Linked DNA regions of Homo sapiens: region 2 is linked to region 1. The links are contacts of gene promoters, found by promoter capture Hi-C in blood cells and fetal thymus (Javierre and others, 2016). All regions are on one chromosome and are shown on one strand. The core of a region is centred on a gene start or on the middle of the fragment in contact, and the rest is flanking DNA. Distances in the headings are between cores, read along the strand shown. Region 1 holds the start of CREB3L3 (cAMP responsive element binding protein 3 like 3). Region 2 overlaps ZFR2 (zinc finger RNA binding protein 2).

The links. The method cuts DNA at HindIII sites, captures the fragments that hold promoters and counts their contacts. A CHiCAGO score of 5 or more calls a contact.
Region 2: a contact is called between a fragment that was not itself captured here and the fragment with the promoter of CREB3L3 in region 1, in 1 of 17 cell types (M2 macrophages). The highest score is 5.2, in M2 macrophages.

What each region holds. Positions count from the first base shown.
Region 1 is chr19:4,152,109-4,154,903 of GRCh38, reverse strand. CREB3L3 (cAMP responsive element binding protein 3 like 3) reads right to left here and starts at 1,273. Exons shown (of 10, transcript NM_032607.3): 1 at 1,130-1,273; 2 at 1-5. The coding sequence starts at 1,156. The HindIII fragment of the contact is 35,033 bases long and covers 1-2,795 here.
Region 2 is chr19:3,860,961-3,863,660 of GRCh38, reverse strand. The region is part of intron 1 of ZFR2 (zinc finger RNA binding protein 2); the gene reads left to right. Among named protein-coding and RNA genes, the nearest start is that of ZFR2, 6.7 kb to the left of the region's middle. The HindIII fragment of the contact is 8,504 bases long and covers 1-2,700 here.

The DNA.
Region 1 (2,795 bases), core at 24-2,523:
GCCATCTGGGGCGCGAGGAACAGATGTGAGGGTCACATACAGCCCCTGTCCTCCCCACCTCCCATGTGCACATAACCCTGGCTCTTTCCGGCTAGAGTTCAGTTGCCGCTCTGCCTCCGGGTTGGGCCAGCTGCTGCCCCTCGCTGAGACTCCCTTTCCAAATCTGGACTTTGAGGCTGATAGAGAGAATTCCACAGTGTGAGAGCCAATTTCTCTTAAAGTGCTGGAGAGGCTGGATGTGGTGGCTCATGCCTGTAATCTCAGCACTTTGGGAGGCCGGGGCAGGAGGATCACTTGAGCCCAGGAGTTCAAGACCAGCCTGCGCAACATAGAGACCCCTATCCCTACTGCAAATAATTTAAAAAAATTAGCTGGCTGCGGTGGCACACACTTGTCGTCCCAGCTACTGGGGAGGCTGAGGTAGGAGGATCCCTTGAACCCAGGAGGTTGAGGCTGCAGTGAGCTATGGCCACCCCACTGCACTCCACCCTGGGTCACAGAGCAAGACCTTGTTTCAAAAAACAAAAAAGTATGGCAGGCACGGTGGCTCACATCTGTAATCCCAGCACTCTGGGAAGCCGAGGCGGGCAGCTCACCTGAAGTCAGGAGTTTGAGACCAGCCTAGCCAACATGGTGAAACCCTGTCTCTAGGAAAAGTACAAAAATTAGCCGGGCGTGGTGGTGCACACCTGTAATCCCAACTACTTGGGAGGCTGAGGCAGGAAGATCTCTTGAACCCAGGAGGTGGAAGTTGCAGTGAGCTGAGATCGTGCCATTGCACTCTAGCCTGGGTGACAGAGGGAGACTCCATCTCAAAAAATAAAAATAAAAATAAAATAAAATAAAATAAAAAGTGCTGGAGAGAGGCCCTAGCTAGAGATGCCGCTTGCCTCTCAGGCCTTCACAGCCTCCCCAAGTGCCCGCTCCTAGGAGGCAGGGGGACCTGGAAGAAAGACAAGGGCAGCCCCGGGGCAAAGGCACACAGTTTTGCTCATTGCATCCTTTCTCTGGGCCTCAGTCTTCCCATCTGTACAATAGGGGTGGAGATGGGGTCCTTCCAGCTCTGGCAGCTTGGGTAGGCTTTCCCAGCCTAGACTCCCGCTCTCCCTGGGGACCTAGTAGGGCTCACCTTTCCAGCAGCTAAATCCGTATTCATGGGTCCATCCAGTTCTGTCTGCAGATGCCTCGGGGGGTCTCTGCTCCAAGCTGGAGGCCCACCCACCGCCAGCGTTACCTGGGGCCGGGCAAGCTCACAGCCCTCTGTGGCTCTGTCACCACTCCCAAAAGATGCTGAAGCGGTCACAGGCAGCTCCCAGCCCACCTCCAGGTGCTGATTGGTGGACAGGGTGGAGAGACAGGGTTGAGGGCCAGTGACACTGGGGCAGGCAGGAGCAGGGGAGGGAAGACCGTTATCTGGGTGTTTTGTGGTTTTCCAGCCCTCAGTGAGCAAAGGTCGAAGTCTGGGGTACCTCCACTCTGCCGTGACCTCTGCCCTACTTATGAGGACTTTTTCTTTTTTTCTTTCTTTTTTGAGACGGAGTCTCGCTCTGTGGCCCAAGCTGGAGTGCAGTGGTGCCATCTCATTTCGGCTCACTGCAACCTCTGCCTCTTGGGTTCAAGTGATTCTCCTGCCTCAGCCTCCCGAGTAGCTGGGACTACAGGTCCCCATCACCATGCCCGGCTAACTTTTGTATTTTTAGTAGAGACGAGGTTTCATCATGTTTTCCAGGCTGGTCTCGAACTCCTGACCTCGTGATCGGCCCCTCAGTCTCCCAAAGTGCGGGGATTACAGGCGTGAGCCACCGCACCCGGCCAGTTACAGGACTTTTTCTCTTCAGAATTCCCAGATGGGTTCTGGGATAGCCCAGGGCCCTTACATGGGTCCTGTCCACTCCCTGGACAGAAACAAACCAAGAGGACCAGACCAGATCTTCACTGAAGCCAGTTTTCCTGCCAGCAGCTAGCGGCTCCCATCCTTCACCCCACCTGCCAACCTCCGGCCCCCAGCCCCCTCCGAAACCAGCTTGGACTCCGCCTCTGAGTCCCCATGGGTGATTCTGTGCAATCAATTCTCTCTAGAATCTTCTATCGTTCATTGAGTCAACAAATATTTATGGAGCCAAACTGGTTCCTGCTTAGGGCCTTTGCACCTACTCACCTGCTCGCCCCTCTGCCTGGAACTCTCCTCTTGTACCCTCCCTCTTCCCCTCTGGCTCTAGGTCACTGTATTGACATTTTAGTGAATGTTCGATATTTGTGAATCAGCCCGGGTGGCTGAGAGGTGTCTCTGACCTCCCCTCCACCCCCTACCAAGAGAGAGGAGCCCTGTTTTGTTTTTTTGTTTTTTTTTTTGGTGTTGGTGGAGGACAGGGTCTCACTCTATTGCCCAGGCTGGAGTGCAGTGGCAGGATCATAGCTCACTGCAGCCTCCAACTCCTGGGTTCAAGTGATCCTCCCGTCTCAGCCTCCCAAGTAGCTAGGACTGCAGGCGTGCACCACCACACCTGGCTAATTTTGTTTTTTTTTTTTTATAGAGATGGGGTCTTACTGTGTTGGCCAGTATGGTCTCAAACTCCTGGGCTCAAATGATCCACCTGCTTCAGCCTCCCAAAGTGCTGGATTTACAGGCATGAGCCACTGTGCCCAGGCAAAGTCCCCCTTTAGCAGATGACATATTAGACCAAGCGTGGTGGCTCACATCTGTAATGCCAGCACTTTGGGAGGCCGAGGTGGGTGGATCACCTGAGGTCAAGAGTTTGAGACCAACCTGGCCAACATGGTGAAACCCCATCTGT
Region 2 (2,700 bases), core at 109-2,608, 290 kb after region 1:
CCCTGCTAGTTCAGGGCCCGGTCAGATAGTGGTTTAGGGCTACATCCTTTAGACATTAAAAAACACATGGCCAGGCATGGCAGTGCACACCTGCAGTCCCAGCACTTTGGGAGGCCGAGGAGGGAGGATTGCTTGAGGCCAGGAAGTTGAAGCTACATTGAGCTATGATCGCACCACTGCACTGCAGCCTGGGCGACAGCGAGAGACCCTGTCTCAAAAAACAATAAAAAAACAAGAGCCCCTCCCCGGAGTGGGGACATTGAGACAGCACATGGCCCCGTGTCACTGGGAAAGTAACGGTGACCCAACCCGTATCTCTCAAAAATGTCTCCCGGGCAACAGGTAGCTTGAAAAAGGCCCGGAGCCCATGCTGACCATGAGAACAGGCTCGGCAGCCCCAGTGCCAGTGACAGAACCTGTTAATACCCCTGATGGGAGCCCCTGCCTGCCAGGTGTGGCTGCAACCGGCTTCAGAACCGACCTGGTCATACCCAGCCCAGACGCCACGCTCGCCCTCCGGCAGGCCTCCAGGTCCTTCCAGTGGAAACCCCACCCACCAAGGCCAACCCCGTCCTTTGAGCTTAGGTCCAAGGAACACAGGCTGCCCTGGAGAGTCCGATGTCGCCACCTTGGGGGCCAGGGCGCATACCTGTAAATGGACTCCTACCACCAGGTCCAAAAAGCCCCAGGAAAGTGAGACCGTGGGCCCCTCCAGCTGTTTGCACATCCTAATAAGTAACTGTGCCTCTGCTGCACCCATTCTTTCCAGGGAGCACGACCCTGGAGGAGCGAGGGGGGAACTTGCCCCTCCCATGTTGCTGCGGTCTTTTTCACGCCCTTCTCAGCAAGGCTGAAATACGTGTTAGGGGCTGAACTCCTTAGAAGAGAATCCGAGAGGCAGCTGCCGGCTGCACGTGAAAATGGGTTGAAGTGTACTTTCAGGAAACCTTTTCAAATGACAGGACTTGCGGTCTGAGCTCCTATACAAGGAATTAGGTAGATTGGATGTTTTTGAAGTGTGGATTTTGATTTTTCATCTTACTTGTTTTAGAACCAAAAGTTAGGCCAGGCACGGTGGCTCACACTTGTAATCCCAGCATTTGGGGAGGCTGAGGCAGTCAGATCACCTGAGGTCAAGAGTTCCAGACCAGCCTGGCCAACATGGTGAAACCCCATCTCAATTGAAAATCCAAAAATTACCTGGGTGTGGTGGCACGTGCCTGTGGTCCCAGCTACTCGGGAGGCTGAGGCAGGAGAATCGCTTGAATCCGGGAGGTGGAGGTTGCAGTGAGCTGAGATTGCGCCATTGCACTCCAGCCTGGGCAACCGAGTGAGACTCCATCTCAAAAGAAAAGAACCAAAAGTTAGTTCATACATACTGGGGCAGAAGTAAATTCCTAGGAGACTTTTTTCTCTCCTAAACATATTCTCTGTTTCTGGATTTTTAATAGTTTTATTTTGTATTTGTCTCTTGTGTGGGTCTACCAACGTGTGTATTTAGAATGATCAGAACAAATACATCAGATTTAAAAGCATTTTCAAATGGCCCTGGAAAACAGTCTTTTCACCTGAGGGTAATGAATATTGGTGTTCTTTCCTGGGGTTCTGGGGGTCATGGGACAAAGGCCCTGATCAGATAAATAACTAGGCAGCCCTAGAAAAATAAGGAAAACACGTAGAAAGGGACTTGTAAACCCTGTGTTCATTGTCTTTGTATTTTATTATTATTATTTTTGAGACAGGGTCTCACTCTGTTGCCCAGGCTGGAGTGCAATGGCGCGATCTCGGCTCACTGCAACGTCTGGCTCACGAGTTTAAGCAATCCTCCTGCCTCAGCCTCCCTAGCAGCTGGGACTACAGGCATGCACCACCACGCCCAGCCAATTTTTGTATTTTTAATAGAGACGAGGTTTCACCATGTTGGCCGGGCTGGTCTCAAACCCCTGATCTCAGGTGATCCACCTGCCTTGGCCTCCCAAAGTGCTGGGATTACAGGCGTGAGCCACCGTGCCCAGCCCTATTTCAATTATTTTTTGAGATAGGGTCTCACTCTGTCACCCAGGCTGGAGCACAGTGGTGTGGTCATAACTTAATGCAGCCTCAACCTCCTGGCCTCAAGCAGTCCTCCCTCCTCGGCCTCCTAAGTAGTTGGGATTTCAGGTAAACACCACCACACCAGGCTAAATGTTGTATTTTTTTGTAGAGACGGGGTTTTGCCATCGGCCAGGCTGGTCTCAAACTCCTGAGCTTAAGTGATCCACCTGCCTCGGCCTCCCAAAGTGCTGGGATTACAGATGTGAGCCACCGCGCTCTGCTCAACTTTAATTTTAAAGTTGCCAGATTTCTTTTAGCTAGAAAGTTAATTTGTACATATTTGGGGGAATGACACTTCTTTTTTTGGTGGATATGTTCCTTTTGCTTTGGGCAGGTTTTTTTCCCCTAAGGTAAGTTCCATTTGCCTTTTTAAATGGACCTATTGTGAGTCGTTTACTTGTCGCGGTTGGCGGAGAGTGGAGAGGCGGCATGGCTCTGCTTCCGCGGCATTGTGGATCTGGGAAGGCCAGTCCTGCCGCAGGAGGTGAAGTCTGTGGTGAGCTCTGCCCCTTGGGAGCAGAGTGACCTGTAATGTCCCCAGGCCCTTGCCATGGATGTATAAAGAGCCGGTGGTGTCTGTTGTTTTGAGTGTCGTTGGTTGAGTCC